2 separate regions of the Homo sapiens genome follow, and region 2 is linked to region 1. Evidence: promoter capture Hi-C in human tissues and cell types (Jung and others, 2019). All regions are on one chromosome and are shown on one strand. The core of a region is centred on a gene start or on the middle of the fragment in contact, and the rest is flanking DNA. Distances in the headings are between cores, read along the strand shown.

Region 1 (4,487 bases), core at 153-2,652:
AGTCCAAGCACGTCAGCTTTTGAAAGTGGTCACGGTCATGGTGGTGGTGGTGGGAGTCGGGGTCCGGAGAGGGGTGGAAGAATTTGCCTGGGATTGTAAATTGGGCTTCCATGCCAGGGAACTGGGCCACTTTACCTAGTGGGGACTGGGAACTGGGGACTGACAGAGTGACGCCCTGTGTTCTCTGCCATGCCAACTTGGGTCCAGAGCCTGGGGCTCCCCACTTTTGGAAACCCTGCCATGCTTGATTTTCACAATTCACTTACAGTCTCCCCAGTCCAGTCCCTGGTACCCCAACAAGGATGGGGGTGGGGGGCTGTGCTGACACAGAAGAAGGAGGGCTTTGGCCAGGTAGCAAAGTGTTCACAAAGTGTGAATCCCTTAAGCATTTCTGGGTATCCCTGCCCCTGGCTTTTACATCTCAGACCCCCAGCCAAGACTCAGGTACCAGCTGCCTCCCAGGACAGCAGAGAGCCAGGCTGTGGGCCGTGGGCTGCCAGGGACAGCTCCAACCCTGATCTATGGTTTTAGGCTTTCAGCCCCAACCAGGTCTTTGTTAAGACCGAGAAGAAAAGGGAAAAAGCTACAAGGTTCTGTCTCCCTAGAAAAGGAAAGGGAAGGCTGCCAGGGAAAAATTGTAGGGGGTGGGGGGATGCCTCATGCCCCTTCTGCGCCCCCTTCCGCGTGGTGGTGGGGACAAGAGAGAGATGTGGGTGAAGAAGAAGGTGGGGTGGGCGGCTAATTGAGGGGGACGACGATTGTGGCGCGGTCAGCGATGCGCCCAGAAGAGTGTGAGTGGGTTGTGTGTGTGTGCGCGCGCGCGCTCTTAGATGAAATTCTCATCTCAGGGTGTGCCCGAGACCCTGGCCAGCAGCCGCCTGCCCCAGCTTTGGGCAGACGCCCCCACCCGCTTTCGCAATTCACCTGGCCCCTTATCTTGAGTTGCGAGGGCTGCTCCCTCCCTCCCTCTTCTCGCCACCGAACCCCCATTCACCTGTTCCCCACCCCGAGTTCAAACGGCTGCTGCAGCTTCCTCCTCCCCGCACCGCCCCCGTACCTGCGCCCCCACAGGGCAGACGATGCTTGGCTGCGCGGCGCGGCGCGGGGCGAAGAGGCGAGGACCCTGCCCGGCGTGTGGGTGCGGGGGTGATGTGTGGACGCGCGTGACTGTGCCAGCGGCCCGAGCTGGTCGGCCCCGGAGAGGGTGCGCGGGGGAGCCCGCGTGTGCCAGCCGCGGGCGTGTGCCAGGCGCGGGCGTGCGCGTGAGGGTGTGTGCACGGCCGAGGCGGAGCGCCCGGGCGGGCGGCGGCGGCGGCGGCGGCGGCAACGGCGGCGGCGTTAGGACTCGGGGGACACCGCCCCCCGCCCCCCGCGTCCCGCCCCCGCCCAGCCTCCCGCCTCAGTTCGCGCCGCGCCTCGGCTTGGAACGCAGGAGCGCCGGCTCCGGGAGCCCGAGCGGAGCCAGCCGCGCGCACAGCCAGCGGCCGCGCCGGCGATGCGGGGCCACCCCGCGCCCGCCCCAGTCCCGGCCCCGGCCCCCGCGGGAAGGGGCTGAGCTGCCCGCCGCCGCCCGGATGGCGAGCCTCGCCGCGCTCGCCCTCAGCCTGCTCCTGAGGCTGCAGCTGCCGCCACTGCCCGGCGCCCGGGCTCAGAGCGCCGCAGGTGAGTGCGCCCGCCCGGCTCCCCTGGGCTCCCCGCTCCCTCCTGGATGCGCGCGGGCCCCCAGCCGCGGGGCCCTCGGAGGAGAAAGTTGTGTGGGCTCGCGGGGGCGCGGGTCCCCATGGCCGGAACCCGGGTCTCAGCTTGCAGGCGCGGGAAGCAGTGTCCCCGCGCGCCCCGGCCAGCGAGCCCGGCCCCTCGCGTCCCTCGGCAGCCCGCGTTTGGCGAAGTTCCCCGCTTCAGTTTCCTGCCGGCCCCCCGGGCTGGAGTAACTTTCCGCGGTTGTTGCGAATATTTCCACTTGCTGCCTCCCACTTGTCGGAATCTGCCACTTGAGTGTTTGGGGCGGCGAGACGAGGAGCGGCACCGACGCCCGGGGTGGAGCGTTCTCTCCCGGGCAGCTCCTCGGGCAGCGCGCGCTTTTAGTGGGGAGGACAGGTCCCCAGCAGGCCGAGGCTGCCGGGGCGGCGGCTTTTCTTTTTTCCTCGGAGATACAGGAAGCTCTCCATTTGCTCTGAACACGCTGCTCCCCTAAGCAGGCCGCTGTAGGCACCCGAGGGGATGTTTGCGTTGATGACCGAGAGCAATACCTCCGCCCTACCCGCTGGCTTTTCTCCGAGGTAGCTGGGCGCCCGTGTTAAGGCCCTTGGAGGGGAGTGGATTTGACCCGTGAGCGCGTCCGCTCCTGAAAAGTTCGGGGAACTCATATTTGGGTTTGGCCACGGGAAGGCGGTGAGCAGAGGTAGTTCCCCAGAGTAGGGGGAGCGGGGGCGGGGGGGTGGTGCCTGCCGTGCTCCTAAAGGCACGTTGGCGGGTGCTGGAGGGCACCACAGTCCAGGGTCTTACACATCACCAAGCCCCACCGCAGGCAGCTTCCACCCCCGAGCCCCCCCCCCCCCAAGAGTAGCGGCGGAGGGAAGAGAAGGGAGTGCTGCAGGTGTACTTCCAAGTTCAAAATCACCTTAAAGTTTCTTAGCACCGATTGCTTTTGGTGTAACCACGCCGGCCTGAGGTGGCTGGGATTGCGGGGACAGGCTGAGATCAGCCCGTGGGACGCAGGAACAGGCTGGTTTCGGATCGCTAAGCAACAGCTGTGCCCATTTATTATTTCACCGAAAGAAGGAAAGGAAGAAAGAAAGAGCAAAAGAACGAACCTGTGGGGAGGTACAGCGTCTTTGCACAAGCTGCGTCTGAGGTTAAGGGCCGCTGGAAGGACATTCCGTTGGAAATGCTTTAGAGCCTTCCTTGCTTGGTACTAAAATGGAAGCGGAATAGGCGACTTCTGTGAAGGGACAGCCTGTTTCCCTGGCTGGGAAGTTGGGTGACGAAGACACTCCTTTTGAGGTGTGTGAAGCTGAAAGGTTGGATTAGCAAGTGAGAGAAGAGGGACAGCTACAGCACCATTCTAAAGATGGTGCACAATTCTTGTTTTCCTCATTTTGGGGGGTGTGTTAGGTGTGCTAGGGGAGGGAGGGGTACTAGGGAGGATGCCCGGGGCAGTCCTGGGGATCCAGGCATGATTCGTGACTCAGATTTTATATCCTCTAAGGCATGACCGGCCAACCACACATTAATACCACTCACGTTCCCGCGGCAGAAACAGGATCAAAAATATTCCATCACGGGTCTCGAATCGTTCTTGGGTAGCAAGCGGTAAAACCCGTACCGGCTCGGGAAGCTGTCCAGTGCTGAACGCCGCCCGTTCCGGATGCTCCCGCCAGGTGGCGCTCGCCCACAACTATTAAAATGCAAATCTGGTTGCTTTCATATCAGGAATAGAACTTCTTTTCAATTTTTAAATGAGTAATGTGTTTATTCAGCAGCCTTTTGTTAAAACATTTAGAGAAGTGTGAGGAGCGAGCACCTTTTCTTTGTTTGCTCTTTAGAATGCAGGAGAAAGAAAAGAAATCCTGGAATATGGTTTGGGAAGAAATCTGTGGTTCTTTTGGGTCTACCTGGGCAGGGTGGTTTCTGCAAACCTGCGATATAGCATATATTTAGCAAGTGGGTGCCTTTGTGCCAGGGGCTCCTTAAACGAATGGGATTAGCTTGTATTGGAGAACTGGTGCATTCTAAGCCTCACACATTTGTAGAAATGGGGATTTTCTGTATATATCTGTCCTCTCCTTTCCAGTTTAACGGCAACTAGACCATCTAAATTAGATTTTTTTTCCCCAGGGTTCCTCATGAACATCTGTATTTGTCAAAACAAGAATACTGTAAATGTTGACTTAAAAATGGACTTATCTTATTTTATTCCTAAATTCAGAAATTGTTAGTATTTCAAATCTAGTATAAATATGACAATAACTTGATTTCCTTTAAAGTATTTTATTTAAAACTTTTGGCAAGTTTGGACAAATACATTTTAAAACTAAGTAGTGTGTTTTCCATGTTCTTTTGATCTGAAAATTCCCAATCTTGAAAGCAATTTCAATTTATAAGGTTACATCCATAACATAGTTGGGCTAATATGTTTTGCTGTAACATGTTGGTCTCAGTGTCCAAAAGTCGGGGCGGAAGCTTGTCATCAAAAGGCAATTTCCTTTTTCCTTACTCTAAGACATATTTCTTGAGCCACGACGGTTTTTGGAAGGAATGATAGTAAAAATCAAACAAACAAAAAACCTTTAGAAACAGCCTCTTAACAATGTGGCAAAACATGATTTGGGATGGGGGAAGAGAGAGACAGTTAAATGAATAAGGGGATAATGAATTCATTTACTAGTGGGTTTCAGAATCCACATATTGAGAGCAAAAATGTATCTTATAGGGGACTGACTTGCAATTGCAATTGTTAGCAATGTAGTCATTTAACTCAATAATCA
Region 2 (4,418 bases), core at 1,540-4,039, 130 kb after region 1:
GTAGAGCTGCCCAGAGCCCATTCGTTGAGGACACATACTTAAAAGATGACATCTAGAGGCCCATCTGGGCTCACGGTCCAAGGAGATTTTGAAGAATTGAAGGTGACTAGTACAGTGAAGGACTTAAAGGTGCTCAACATGAGGCCGAGCACATTTGATACTCAAGACCGTTGAGTTCTGTTATAAGGAGGCAGTGGGCAGATGTCATCCACCTGGCCTCTTGAGTCGGAGTATCAGGGACCAGGATTCAGGCACATAGAAGGAAGCACTTTTAGAACTGGCTGTGCCACCCTACAGTTGAGTAGATTGTTTCTGGAGGAGCGAGAGTAGTGACGGAAAGGAGTTAAGAGGAATTAATTTTGATTCTGGAACTTCAGAAATACTTGTGGAATGCTTATTGTGAGCCTCATGCTGAAGTAGGTACCCTGACTGACCATCCATCCATCCATCCATCCATCCATCCATCCATTCATTTATCCGCCCATCCACTCACCCACCCTCCTACTTACCCACCTACCTACAGATCTGGCTATCTAGATATCTAGCTATCTATTTTAAATTTTTTATTGAGGTATAATTTAAATACTGTAAAGTATGTAGATCTTAAATATATGGGTTAGAAAGTTTTGGCTAATGCATGCACTCCTGTAACACCTATAATCTTACCAAAATACACAACCTGTCACCCCAGAAAGTACCCTTGTGCCCTTTAGTTCTCCTCCTCCCAAACAAGTCTAATTCTTACTAGGCACATTTTATTGATTGTAGAACGTCATATGAATGGTCCTACAGTGTGCAACATTTTGTGTTGAGCTTCTGGATGAAGAGCTCTCTGGAAGAGAACACAGAGGTCCTTGTTTAGTGCTAAATGCATGGTGGGCACTGTGCTAGTAGCCACATTTGTATAAATTATTTCATTCAATCTTCACAATAACCATGCAAAGTATGTATTGTTGTGCCTGTATTGCAGATAATAAAGCCGAATTAAAAATATTAACTTGCTCATAGTCACATAGATGAAAAGTGACTGCTATAGACTGAATGTTTATGTTCCCATACAATTTGTTTATTGACATCTAACCCCTGATGTGTGTTACTTGGAGGTGGGGCCTTTGGGAGATGATTAGGCCAGGAAAGAAAGCTCTTATAAATCAGTGCTCTTATAAAAGGGACTTCAGAAAGCCCCCTTGTCCCTCACACCATGTGAGGAAACAGCAAGAGGAAGACCATCCATGTTCCAGGACGCAGGTCCTCACCAGACACAGAACTTCTTGTAGCCTTGAATTTGGACTTCCCAGGCTCCAGAACAGTGAGAAATAAATTTATGTTGTTGATAAGTCACTTAGTCTATGGTGTTCTGTCACAGCAGCTCAAATGGACTAAGATAAAAATTGGTACCGAGAAATGGGGGTGCTCCTGTGCCAAACACCTGAAAATGTGGAACAGGCTTTGGAACTGGATAATGAGGCTGGAAGAGTTTTGAGGTACGTGCTAGAAAAAGCCTACACTGCCTTGAACAGACATAATAATAACAAAAATAAAATAATGTATTTTTTTTTTTTTAGACAAAGTCTCACTCTGTCTCAGAATACATTGCACTCCCAGGCTGGAGTACAATGGCACAATCTCAGCTCACTGCAACTTCCCCCTCCTGGGTTCAAGCAGTTCTCATGACTCAGCCTCCTGAGTAGCTGGGATTATAGACGTGTACCACCATGCCCAGGTAATTTTTGTATTTTTAGTAGAGGCAGGGTTTCACCATGTTGGCCAGGCTGGTCTTGAACTCCTGACATCAGTTGATCTGCCCACCTCAGTCTCCCAAAATGCTGGGATTACAGGCATGAGTCACTGGGCCTGGCTGTTGAACAGACCTTTAAAGGTGATTCTGGTGAGGGCTCAGAAGAGGAAGAAAGCTCAAGAGAAAGCCTCCACCTCCTGAGAGAATACCTAAGTAATGCTGAGTAGAATGTTGGTAGAAATACGGATGGTAAAGGCCATTCTGCTGAGGTCTCAGTTGGAGATGAGAGCCACGTTATTGGGCAATGGAGAAAAGACAATCTCTTATCAAGCGGCAAAGCTTTTAGCTGAATGAATTGTCTTCATGTTCTAGTGTTTTGTGGAAGGTAAAACTTGTGAATGATAAAATTGGATATTTAGCTGAAGCTCTTTCTAAGCAAAATGTTGAAGGTATGCCTTGGCTCCTCCTCACTGCTCAGAGTAAAATGCAAGGAAGAGAGAAATGACTCAAAAATGAAATTGTTAAGCAAAAAGGAATCAAAACTTAGAGATTTGAAAAATTCTCAGCCTATACATATTGAAAAAAAGAACATTAAGGCTATGTCCAAGCAACTGTTTGATAAGGAGATTAGTATGAATCAGCAGTCTTAACGGAAGCCAGGAGCTATTCTCCAAGACAGTGGAAGAATGACCCTAAAGTTGATTCTGAGATCGTCAGACCTGCCCCTGCCATCATAGGCTCAGAGTGCAAGGGCTAGGTGCAGGGTGCAGACTGGTTTCAAAGGAAGAGCTCCCAGTGGCTGCAGGACCTTGACATGCCCTACCTGGCGCCACCTCACATTGAAGACTCTGCTCCCCACACTCTGATGCTATACTCATTGGTCACCCGAGGTGGTCTCCAGTGGGCCCCAGTGCAGCTTGGGCCGCAGTGGCTGCAAAGAAGATAGCAGAGCCTGAATTCAAATTTGAATCTGTTGCTCTCTCTGTAAGACTGAAAAAAAAATAAGGTTTTCTTAGTCTTGGTGTATTGCATTTCACATTATATTATGTTGTACTGAAAACTGCAGCACCTTCTGAACAGACAAAAGGAGCCACTGATCAGTCTGATAATTGGAGCATGGAGAGATGTGGAGCACAATTTCCCTTGGTTATTCCTGGTTTCCATCTCACTGATGACCACTTTGTTATTTTGCATGAAGCGTTTATTGCTTAATGACATATTGTTCACATTACAATACCATTTCTGAGCAATTAGAGCAGTTACAGAGGCCTGGGCCTATGGTGTGGGGCCGTGTTAAAATTTGGAATCCATTTGTTCAATGTCATTTTCCATGTTGGGGCAGATTTTCTCTTGCCTTCCCTCTCTCCTTTCCTTCCATCCTCTTTTCTCTCTCTCTCTTCCTCTCTCCTTCTTTCTTTCTCTGGCTCTCTTTCTCTCTTCTCTCCTTCCCTCTCTCTCTTCATTGTTCTCTCTCCCCACTCACTTTCTCTTCCTCCCTCTTTCTTGCCCTCTTTCACCCGATCTCTCTCACTACTTTCCTCATATCTCTTTGTCTCTCTGTCTCATTTCTCTCTCTGTGTCTGCTCTTTTTTTCCTCCCCTCTTACTTTTTTTATTATGTAAGATAAAGCAACTACCAGGGATCTAAGTTGAGAGGCATATGGCACTAAGAAAAGGTCACTGGGCACTCTGGAAGCCCTGATGGTTTTTGTACCTGTCCTGCTTCTCTCCAGCTGTGTGCACAAGGGCAAGGCATGGAAACCTCTGCACACCACTGCCTCTGTAAAGCGTGAGTGATACTTCCTTCCTTGCCTGTTCCCCTTCTTGTTTTTTTGTTCATCTCACACATATATACTGGGTGCTTTCTATGTACTAAGCACTGGGTTAGGCATTGAGTGGGGGAACAAAACTGACTTGGCTCCTGACCTCCAGGCATTTATAGTCTAGAAGGAAGACAAAGAATAAACAAATAATCATGTGACTAATGGCAAAGGTCCTGTGAGTAGCCCCTGAACTCTCTGCAGTTATCATATTCATGTTGCCCAATCTGGAAGTACAAGGCATATTTCCCAACTCAGAACCTGGTGGTCCAGGGCCTTTGCCATCACTTTAAAGAATTCTAAGTTTTTATTTTGAAATACTTTCAGATGTACAAGAAGTTGCAAACATAGTACAGAGTTCCTTGTACCATTCACCCAGCTTTCTCTAAAGGTAATATTTTACATAATCATAGTAATATTGTCAAAACCAGGAAATTGTTAACTTAGAGATCTACCTTATTTGGACTTCACTAGTTTTCACATGCACTTTCTTTTTTAGTTTTTTTCTTCCCTTTCATTCCCTTTTCCTTTTTCCTTTCCTTTCAACCCTCCTTTTCCTTCCTCCCCTCTCTTCCCCTCCCCTCCTTCCCTCCTTCCTTCTTTTCCTCCTTTCCTTCCCTTCCTTCCCTACCTCCCTGCCCTTCCTTCCTTTCTCCCCTCCCCTCCTTCTCCCCTTCCCCCCTCCTCCTCCATTCCTTCCCCCCTCCCCTCCCCTTCCCCCCCTTCCTCCTTCCTTCATTCCCCACCCTCCCAACCCCCATGAACTTTCATCATGTGTGTAGATTCAAGTGACTATCCCCACAGTCAGGAGGCAGAACTGACCCATGACCACAAAGAAACTCTCCTGTGTTACTGTTTAAG

What was found. The method cuts DNA at HindIII sites, captures the fragments that hold promoters and counts their contacts. A contact is called where the count stands out against the background at its distance.
Region 2: a contact is called between a fragment that was not itself captured here and the fragment with the promoter of PTPRT in region 1, in 1 of the 25 tissues and cell types used here (dorsolateral prefrontal cortex).

What each region holds. Positions count from the first base shown.
Region 1 is chr20:43,186,821-43,191,307 of GRCh38, reverse strand. It overlaps PTPRT (protein tyrosine phosphatase receptor type T), which reads left to right and starts at 1,402. Exons shown (of 31, transcript NM_007050.6): 1 at 1,402-1,662. The coding sequence starts at 1,575. It overlaps PTPRT-DT (PTPRT divergent transcript), which reads right to left and starts at 1,243. Exons shown (of 3, transcript NR_186414.1): 1 at 1,058-1,243. The HindIII fragment of the contact is 13,787 bases long and covers 1-4,487 here.
Region 2 is chr20:43,057,139-43,061,556 of GRCh38, reverse strand. All of the region lies in intron 1 of PTPRT (protein tyrosine phosphatase receptor type T), which reads left to right. Among named protein-coding and RNA genes, the nearest start is that of PTPRT-AS1, 91 kb to the right of the region's middle. The HindIII fragment of the contact is 3,903 bases long and covers 838-4,418 here.